Linked DNA regions of Homo sapiens: all the other regions are linked to region 1. The links are contacts of gene promoters, found by promoter capture Hi-C in human tissues and cell types (Jung and others, 2019). All regions are on one chromosome and are shown on one strand. The core of a region is centred on a gene start or on the middle of the fragment in contact, and the rest is flanking DNA. Distances in the headings are between cores, read along the strand shown.

Region 1 (3,118 bases), core at 223-2,722:
ACCCTTTCCGGTCATAGGCACCGGCCGGCAAAATCCGCGGAGGCGAGAGGGGGAGGGGATACGCGGCGGCGGAGGAGGAGCTGAGGAAGGAACTAGGCCCGTCCCTGGCGGACAACCGGGCCTACGAGTAGCTAAACGGCAGGGGGGACCCAAACAGGGGAGAAGGGTGAACATCTTAACTCGGTTCTGAAACAGGGAGTCTTGGGTTACCTCGGAAAAGGCGAAGTTCCTCGAGGGAAAAGGAAGGGAGCGGCTGGGGGGGCGGTTGGGGGGGGCCCGGAAAATGGATCCCAGGCCCAGGCGGGGCCCTAGCGGGGCCTGAGCCGGGGAACGACTGCGTCTCCGAAGAAAGGTGCCAAAGAAGGCTAGGTGAGGGCCTAACGGTCCGTTGGGAGCAGAAGAATCTGGGAGGCGTTTACCTGGAAAGCTCCTGTTGAATTTCCCGGAATTTACTGACCACGAAAGACCTAAAAATCTGCTCGATGTTGGTCGCCATGGCGTCCGCTCCGTTCTCTCAACTCCTCCTCGCTAGTCCTCCAGGCTCCCAGCATGCCTCGGGAGGAGGCGCACGGGCCAATTCGGTCTCTCGCCTTCCTGATTGGCTCCAAAGGGAATGCCCGGTCCGGCCCGCTCCACCGAGGGACCAATCAGTGAGCACGGCCCTGCTCTCCTCTGCTGTTTCTGAGCGGCTGGGGTAGAGGTGCTGACGTTTGCGCCGCGCACGACTATGTCCGCCATGTTAGTGTCTGACGCAGGCGCCATTACAGGAGCCGTCTCTCTTGAGGCGACCGTGTCCGCATAAGTTGTCAGTCCCCAGCAGTGTTTGGGAGCCTTAACAGGCTTGCTAAGTGCCTGAGATTAAAGGCGAAGAGGAAGAAGAGCAAGAAGGGCAACCCGGTGTTTAACACACGGCTTTCAGGCGCTCTCAGGTGGCGCCAAGTTCAGTTTCGACAGGGATATGCATCCGGGAGAGAATTTTTCAGCCCCCGCCCCCACTGGCATGTGAGAGGAGGAACTCGCTGTTGCCCTGTGTCTTCCCCAGTGCGTTCTATAACCAGCCTCATTTTTTTTTTTAGCAATAGGCCGGATGTCCTAAGCGACCGGCATTCAAAGCCCGGTGCATTTTAGTCTCATCAGGAGTCAGGCGTGTCACGAGATTTTTCCGCGGTAGCTGCTCAGCTCTGACTCGTGAGCGGCGCACAATTGGCTAAGAATGGGTTTAGCATTTTGGCGCTCCCCCCCGGCGCTCCTGGAAACACTGCGTGGCACCCCGTACCACTGTCACATTATAAACGTGCTAAGGCTTGGGTGTCTCGGCTGGGGAGCAGTCAGGCAGCGCCCAGGGCGGGAGGGAATCAGACTAGATTCTCGCCGCGGAGACCCAGGGCCGCGCGGACCAATGGGGCAGGGAAGCCGTCGTAGGGCGGGGCAGTGAGGGGCGGTGCCGCGCTGGTCCCGCGCCGGTCCCGGTGGGCCGACTTCCGGCGAGCGGGCAAGCGGGAACCAGGTGGCCACCCGGTGTCGGTGCGTAAACCCCCTCCGCTTTTACACGGAGCGCGCTTAGGCTTTGGTTTGGGGATTTAAGATCGCGAACTGAGTGAAACCATAGAAACTGATTTGTAGAAATTTTCCTGTTGTTTGTAAATGCGGTGGGTGGGGGTTGGCCATGTGCTTTTCACTTGCTACTGTTAGCTGGTTTCTATTTGCTCTTTTACTTTTCCTGTTTTCTAAGATGTCAAGGCCTTTTTGTGTCTTTATACATTTTTAGGACATAACCCTAAATTGGTGTACTTTCTCTTTATGCACCCGTTGTCTCTGGCAGATTACTTGGTTAATTTTGTAGTTGGTTTCTACTTTATTCTCCATATCCTCTGATACGGCTTTATTTGCCTGTCTTATTCTGCTTATGTTACCCATTCTGAGGAATGAGGCCCAAGGTTAGTGAAGTCCCCCAAGGTCTTCCTGCTAGTATGGGGCAGCGTCTCTACCCAGGCCAAGGCGCTGTGTGAGACTCAGGAGCCCAGGCGTCCTCACCACTGGGTAGTAAGGCTATTTTCAGTGATCCACTAGAGTAAACAGAATTTTCCCACACTACTGCTATATTCAAACTAAAGATGTAACATTTGCTCTAGATTTAAAGATCTGTTTATTTCTGGCCGGATGTGATGTAATCCCAGCACTTGGGAGGCCAAGGTGGGTTGACCATTGGAGGTCAGGAGTTCGAGACCAGCCTGGCCAACGTAGTGAAACCCCGTCGCTACTAAAAATACAAAAATTCGCCTGGCGTGGCGGCGCACGCCCGTAATCCCAGCTACTTGGGAGGCTGTGAGGCAAGAGAATCGCTTGAACCCGGGAGGCGGAGGTTGTAGTGAGCTGAGATCACACCACTGCCCTCCAGCCTGGGCGACAGAGAGAGACTGTCTAAACAAATAAATAAATAAATAAAATAAAAAATCTGTTTATTTCAGATACACATGGCAAGTAAAATGTGTTTTCCCGTTACACTAAAGTAGCTGTTCCTTCCGAGACTGTAATTTAACAGGGTTTTTTTTTTTCCTTTCTCAAATTTTCAATGATCATCGTTTCACTTGTTGAGAGAATCTGAAGCAAAATTGCTTCTGTTAGGCTCCACCCCCTCTTACCTGTGTGACCTCCAGCAAGTTATTTACCTATCTGGGCCTCCTTGTCTTATCTGCAAATTGGTGATAGTAATAGTATCTCCCTCATAGGATTCTTTCATGACAAGCATTTTAAATAGTACCCTGCCCAAGGTTAAGTGCTCAAAAAAATGTTAGTTTTGTATATTGTCAGCTTACATTTTTCTTAAAATATGTAATCCCAACATCATCAAAATAAGTTTTCAATTTTCTTTTTCCTGTTACCAGTTTGTCTTGTGGTAAGTAAATGTAACAAGTTAACATTTACTACTGCTGAGTGCCAGATTGTACTTATTTATAAATGTCATTTCAGTTAATCTCCTAGGTTACACTGCTGTTGTATCCATCCTTCTAAGTCTCAGGTGCCAGAACTAAAGTGAAATGAGTTGGAATTTGATTTTTGCCTTCTCTACCAATATTCTAGCATATTGCGCTATTTGAATTAGGAGTCAGCAAACTAT
Region 2 (3,118 bases), core at 362-2,861, 360 kb before region 1:
AATGATTGTGCGCATTGGCGAGAAATATGTTGACATGTCTGTCAAGACCAAGATTCAGAAGCTGGGCAGGGCTATGCGGGAGATTGTCTAAAAGTGTTGGTTTTCTGCCATCAGTGAAAATTCTTAAACTTGGAGCAACAATAAAAAGCTTCCAGAACAGATCATATTATGTTCACTGTCTTTTAAACTGGAATGTAGAAGGCTTTATTTTTATGTCCTTTTTTGGTATCCCCTGAGTATAAAGGCCAAAAAGCCCTTTTGGCCTAGAGAATTTGGTTTGAGTAGATTATGTTTAGGAATTAATTGGTTAGACACAGCACCTAACACATGGTCACTCAGCAAAGTCTATCTGGTCCTGCCTGCCAAAATCCCGTGTCTTTAAGGGTTTGTTCAGAGTTCCTGGTCCCTACTAGATCATCGGATCTGTGTTTGATCCATAGCCCTCCAGGGAGGCCTCTTGCCCTTGATCCTAACATGAACACACCTAGTTGTAGGCTGCTCTGTAGCTTTCAAGGCCATTTCATGTACATCTGAAGCTGCATGACAGCCTTGTCACACGGGTGGGAGAGACATCACCCCACTTTACAAATGAGGAAAGAGATTGAGGGGCCCTAGAGATGTGCTCAGAGTCACCTGTCTGGACAGCTGGTGTCAGGCCCTACAGCCCATGTTTTTACCACTGTATAACTAACACCATGCGCCGACACGTTGCTGGAGCAAACGGGCAAAAGTTACCTTAGGTAGGTCCCCTGCCCCTTCCCGCTTTGTCCCTAAGATGCTCCCAATTCACCTTTTAACCAAAACCAGTTCCCAGGTCAGCTCTTCCACTACATTTTACCTTTTGGTCTTCTAGAGAAAATAGTTACAGAGTTCCCCACGCAACAGCCCGCTCAGGTGCCTGTTCCTTAGTCAACCTCCAAGAACTTTTGGCCAACAAACCAGTTCCCTTCCCAGAACCACCCCTGGTTGGGCAGAGGCAGGACCATTGCAGCAAAGAAGTCCTACAGAGCAATGACATGGCCCAGCGCTGCTCCCTATGTGCTAGTGCTGGGACTGGCGTGCCCTCCATGTGGCACAACACTCCTGACACTCATGCTTGGCTTCAACTCCAGCTTCCTCCTGGCAAAGCTTTTAATACATGATCACCTAATGTGACAACCAACGGAGACACCACGTGGCCCCTCAGCCTTTCCAGGAACCAGGAGTGCTGAGGCCCCTCAACCTTTCCAGGAACCAGGAGTGCTGAGGCCCCTCAACCTTTCCAGGAACCAGGAGTGCTGAGGCTGCTGGCTGGCCCGAAGACCATTCAGCCACCTTTTAGGTGGGCCTAGGGCTACTCAGCTAGAGACCACATTCTTGAGCCTCTGGCAGCACCTGACCTTGGTGCTGAGTTCTGGCAAATGGGAAAGGAGAGGAAGCGAGGTGTGCCTTCCTGGACTGCCCTCTTGAGCAATCCTTAGTCCATCCCTCTAGCTAGATGCAGACAAGATGGCAAGCGATGCCAAGGGCAGAGCCACCCTGCCAAGCCTTACTGCTGCCCCTGGGCTGTTAAACACGATGAAGAAATAGACCTCTCTTCAAAGCCACGGGATATTGAGTTCTGTCTCCGCAGCTGAGTCTGCAACCTAACCATGACCACATTCCAGGTTCCCCCAGACTCACTGCCTGCCTCCTGCCTGCAGTGAGGCCTGCTCTGCAGAAGGTGGCGTCATACACACAATCACAGCTCCTACAGACATGTGACTGCCAATGGACAAACCGTCTTTGCGGGAGCCTCATGCTGCTGATGCTGCCCAGATCCTTCAGAGTCAAACTCAGCAAGCTTCCTGTTGATCAAGCACATACAATCTTGGGGAATGATGAGGCCCTTCATATGTCGCCTTACGAGGTCACCAGAGAGAACCTAGAGATCTATGTACAATGATTTGTTTTGTTTTTTGAGACAGTCTCACGCCATCACTCAGGCTGGAGTGCAGTGGCACGACCATGGCTCACTGCAACCTCAACCTCCTGGGCTCAAACCATCCTCCCACCTCAGCTGAAACTACAGGCAGTGAAACTAGAGGCAGTGCGACCACACCCAGCTAGTTTTCATATTTATAGTAGAGACAGGATCTTGCCATGATGCTCAGGCTGGCTTTAAACTCCTGGGCTCAAGTGATCACTGGCCTCAGCCTCCCAAAGTGCTGGGATTATAGGCTTGAGCCACCACACCCAGCCTACAATGATTTTCTTCACAGTATTTTTTTAAAATCAAGGTGAAAGTTTTACAGTCCCTTGTATATGGGATATTTTCGATGCATATTAGCTATTAAATAGTACAAGAGGCCGAGCGCAGCCAGGGTGACAAGAGCAAGACTCCGTCTCATAAATAAATAAATAGTACAAGAGTATTTAAAATGCACACACACACAAAAAATACAGAAATGAAGTGCATCAAAACCTTTATTTTTGTGTAGAAGAACATCTCCATTAAGTGATTTTATTTCCTTTGTGTTTTTCTTTCCTTGCTGAATTTTCTGCATTAACAAGTATTACTTCTGTAACAAGAAGAAAAACTAAATATTTGAGAATAAAAAGTATTGCCTTGATTATGCTGGCTACTAACCGTGGTTAAATAGGTAATAATTACATGTTTTGTACTAGTGATTCCATCCACTCTCTGGTCTGTGTGAGGGGGCCCTCATCAGACTTGGAGAGAACTAGGTATAGTTGGGAAAGTTAATTATTGCATTTGTTTTTAATGGCATTTAACTTTTTATTTTTAAGACAGGGTCTCACTCTGTCACCCAGACTGGAGTGCAGTGGCACAATCATGGCTCACTGCAGCCTTGGCCTCCTGGACTCAAGAGATCCTCCTGCCTCAGCCTCCCAAATACCCGGGACCATGAGCATGTGCCACCATGCCTGGCTGATTTATTTTTTGTAAAGACAAGGTCTCACTATGTTGCTCAGGCTGGTCTTGAACTTCTGGATGCAAGCAATCCTCCTGCCTCAGCCTCCCAAAGCACTGGGATTACAGGTGTGAGCCACCACATCCAGCCTTAACTTATTTTTAAAACTTCAAATAACAACCAAGAAAAGGGCATACGATTTTATGTTCTTCAAAAATGGGGCA
Region 3 (3,118 bases), core at 415-2,914, 350 kb after region 1:
TTTCCTGATCCTAAATGGTATCAAGCAATTAATAATGCTTAAAAGAAAACTGAATGAATCATTGATAACTAACCTGGTGATATTGTCAATGAATTAAGTTACTGAATTTCAAATGTCTGTTATTTCTAATCACAGGTCAGATTCAAGTTGTTTTGGCTTTTACTACAAAAAGCATCTTTACATATATCTGCAATTTAATGGATAATTTATTTTCCCTTTCCATACATCTGAAAGAAGAAACATAATTGGTATGAACAGCACTTAATTCCAGACTGACTTCTTTTGAACTGTAGGTAAGCATTATTTGTTTGAATGATTACAATTGAGACAAAATGTGGGTTTTTAACAGCTGCTCACAGATTGCAGGCTGATAATGACAGTAACTCTATGGCAGCTATTTGTAACCCCTACCCTAGTTCATAGAAAGAGAAGCATATTAGACAGTGGGCATGGCAAGTACCTCTCCGCAGGTGTGTACGGAATCAGAATTCAACTTTTAGAAGATTTCTGCTCTGAAAACAAATTATTTTTTAAAGTAAGCTTTTACTTATTTTGGGGGGTATGGTGAGTACTTGGGAACGTGAGAGAGTGTTTCCTACTTTTCTCATGGTGAGAGTTGACAAGATGTGAGGTTTGGAGCCTGTGTTGTAGAATTCAAGGTCATCAAAAAAGGCAGGTCTTGTGGCTCTGCTTGAGGCATGAGTTAAAACTTTTCTTATCATCCTGATCAAATACAGTTGTAGGAGTTGTCGCAGGGAGATTAGCACCCTTTCTCCAGTTCATCTTGGACAGGTGGTTTTTATTATTCTTGTATTTGGTTTTTATCCTCTTTCTTTCAGAGCTAAGGGAGACTCATCAGAATGGATGGTTTCTGAAATAGGAATCTATTCAAGATTTAGGAATATAGAATTTTTATTTTTTAAAACACATTACATTTCATTACACTGTCCAATGATATAACAGAACCACAGACTTTTCTGGTTGTGTCCTGCTCTTTATTTTTACCTGGATCCAAGCTTTCTTCAATGATTCTCTCTCTCTCTCTTTTTCTTTTTCTTTCTTTTTTTTTTTTTCTTTTTTGAGTTGGAGTCTTGCTCTGTCACCCAGGCTGGAGTACAGTGGTGTGATCTTGGCTCACTGCAACCTCCGCCTCCTGGGTTCAAGTGATTCTCGTGCCTCAGCCTCCTGAGTAGCTAGGATTACAGGTGTATGCTACAATGCCTGATAAACTTTTGTATTTTTTGGTAGAGACTGGATTTCACCATGTTGCCCAGGCTGGTCTCAAACTTCTGGCTTCAAACTATCTGCCTGCCTCAGCCTCCCAAAGTGCTGGGATTACAGGCGTGAGCACCGTGCCCTGCCTCTCTTCAAGGACTCTCTTTGCTACATCGGCATCACCTGGGAACGTGGTAGGGCTACAGAATCTTGGGCCCCACCTTGGACCTACCTAATCGTCATCTTATTCATTGGTGTTCCCTTCGCCAGGTGAGTTTTGCACTGACTAAAACACACAGATCTATCAGGTGAGTCGAAATGGCAATACTCATTTACCTTAGTTCTGCCTTTATTTTACTTTCAGTGTTTTATCCTTGTCCATGGAGTCACTCTCATTCATGCAGTTCCACAAATATTTTTTAAGGCCCACTCTGTGGCAGACATAATACAAAGGGCTGAGAATAAAGATGAAAAAAATCATTTACTCAAAGTATGTAGTATGTCATCCAATGATAAGTTATGGAGGAAAAGGCAGGCTAAGGGGGCCGGGAGTGTGGGAAAAGGGTGCAGTGGTATACAGAGTGATCAGCGAAGCCTTCTCCCAGGAAGGGGCCTCTGAGCAGAGAAGGGGAGGACAGAAGGAAAAGTCACGTGGAGGGCTCAGGGAACTACCTCCTCTGCCCTCCAAAGCCACTAGCGAATCGCTGTGTGCGAGGGTTGCCACATTTAGCAAAAATACAAGATACCTAGTTGCATTTGAATTTCAGATCAACCTTGAATATGTGTTGGGTATAACATACTAACTTTTTTTCTTTTTCTTTTTCCTTTTTTTTTTTGTTTTGAGACAGAATCTCACTCTGTTGCCCAGGCTGGAGTGCCGTGGTGCGATCTCGGCTCACTGCATCCTCCGCCTCCCTGGTTCAAGAGATTCTCTTGCCTCAGCCTCCTGAGTAGCTGGGATTACAGGCACCTGCCACCATACCCAGCTAATTTTTGTATTTTTAGTAGAGACAGGGTTTCGCCATGTTGGCCAGGCTGGTCTTGAACTCCTGACCTCAGGTGATCCGGCCGCCTCGGCCTCCCAAAATGCTGGGATTACAGGCGTGAGCACCGTGCCTGGCCTAACTTTTAATATTAAAATACACATATATAAAATTTAGTACATATACTAGTACATAGTACATGTACTAAATTATATTGTAATGTTTTTAGTATGTCCCATACAATATTTACGACATATTTATTTATACTAAACAAATTCATTGTTTATCAGAAATTAAAATTTAACTGGGCATCCCATATCTGTGTGACCCTCTGTGTGACCGATGGCTTGTGGACCAGACCATGAGCTTGGGGAATGTCCTTCTCAGCAGGACCACCATTTCCCTTCTCAGTCAACCCTCACCTTGTTCCCTAGGCTCTGGGCAGGGTCACCTTGAAGGCGGCCATCTGTGGCCTTGTGTTAACTCCACAGGTGACACCTGGATTCTGTAGTCAGATAAGAATGTGCGCCTGTCTTCTATAGCCAGCTAAGCATTTCCTAAACTAAACACTCCTAAAAAGTCTTCTCTAGTGAACAAAACACATCTTAGAATCCTCCAGGAATATACTCCATTGTGAATGGATCACAGTGGGGAAAAAAAGTGAATTGTTCCTTTGTCCATCTAATGTTTGGGAGAAACTCATGATTTATTTTGCAGCCAAACGCACACGCAATCCAGTTTGCAGTTTTCCAAAGGCTATTTCTGATGTGGGATGTGTGGCTCCTCCCACCTCTTCCTGGTATAATCTATAGCGTAACATCTGTGTGTCTATGCTAAGAGTCAAGCCATTAACCTCTGAATTTATTTATTTATTCGAGATGGAGTTTTGCTCTAGTCGCCCAGGCTAGAGTGGAATGGTG

Evidence for each region. Contacts are between HindIII fragments. The study calls those that stand out against the background at their distance.
Region 2: a fragment that was not itself captured here is called in contact with the fragment with the promoter of GART in region 1 in 1 of the 25 tissues and cell types used here (dorsolateral prefrontal cortex).
Region 3: a fragment that was not itself captured here is called in contact with the fragment with the promoter of GART in region 1 in 1 of the 25 tissues and cell types used here (H1 embryonic stem cells).

What each region holds. Positions count from the first base shown.
Region 1 is chr21:33,540,471-33,543,588 of GRCh38, reverse strand. It overlaps GART (phosphoribosylglycinamide formyltransferase, phosphoribosylglycinamide synthetase, phosphoribosylaminoimidazole synthetase), which reads left to right and starts at 1,472. Exons shown (of 22, transcript NM_000819.5): 1 at 1,472-1,524. It overlaps SON (SON DNA and RNA binding protein), which reads right to left and starts at 551. Exons shown (of 12, transcript NM_138927.4): 1 at 420-551. The coding sequence starts at 496. RefSeq lists silencers at 177-266, 1,307-1,596 and enhancers at 447-506, 411-1,142, 707-1,156. The HindIII fragment of the contact is 11,246 bases long and covers 1-3,118 here.
Region 2 is chr21:33,900,499-33,903,616 of GRCh38, reverse strand. It overlaps ATP5PO (ATP synthase peripheral stalk subunit OSCP), which reads left to right. Exons shown (of 7, transcript NM_001697.3): 7 at 1-164. The coding sequence ends at 91. Among named protein-coding and RNA genes, the nearest start is that of ATP5PO, 14 kb to the left of the region's middle. RefSeq lists an enhancer at 1,241-1,836. The HindIII fragment of the contact is 3,345 bases long and covers 1-3,118 here.
Region 3 is chr21:33,193,678-33,196,795 of GRCh38, reverse strand. It overlaps LOC105372787 (a long non-coding RNA gene), which reads left to right and starts at 1,279. Exons shown (of 3, transcript XR_937675.3): 1 at 1,279-1,485. The HindIII fragment of the contact is 3,695 bases long and covers 1-3,118 here.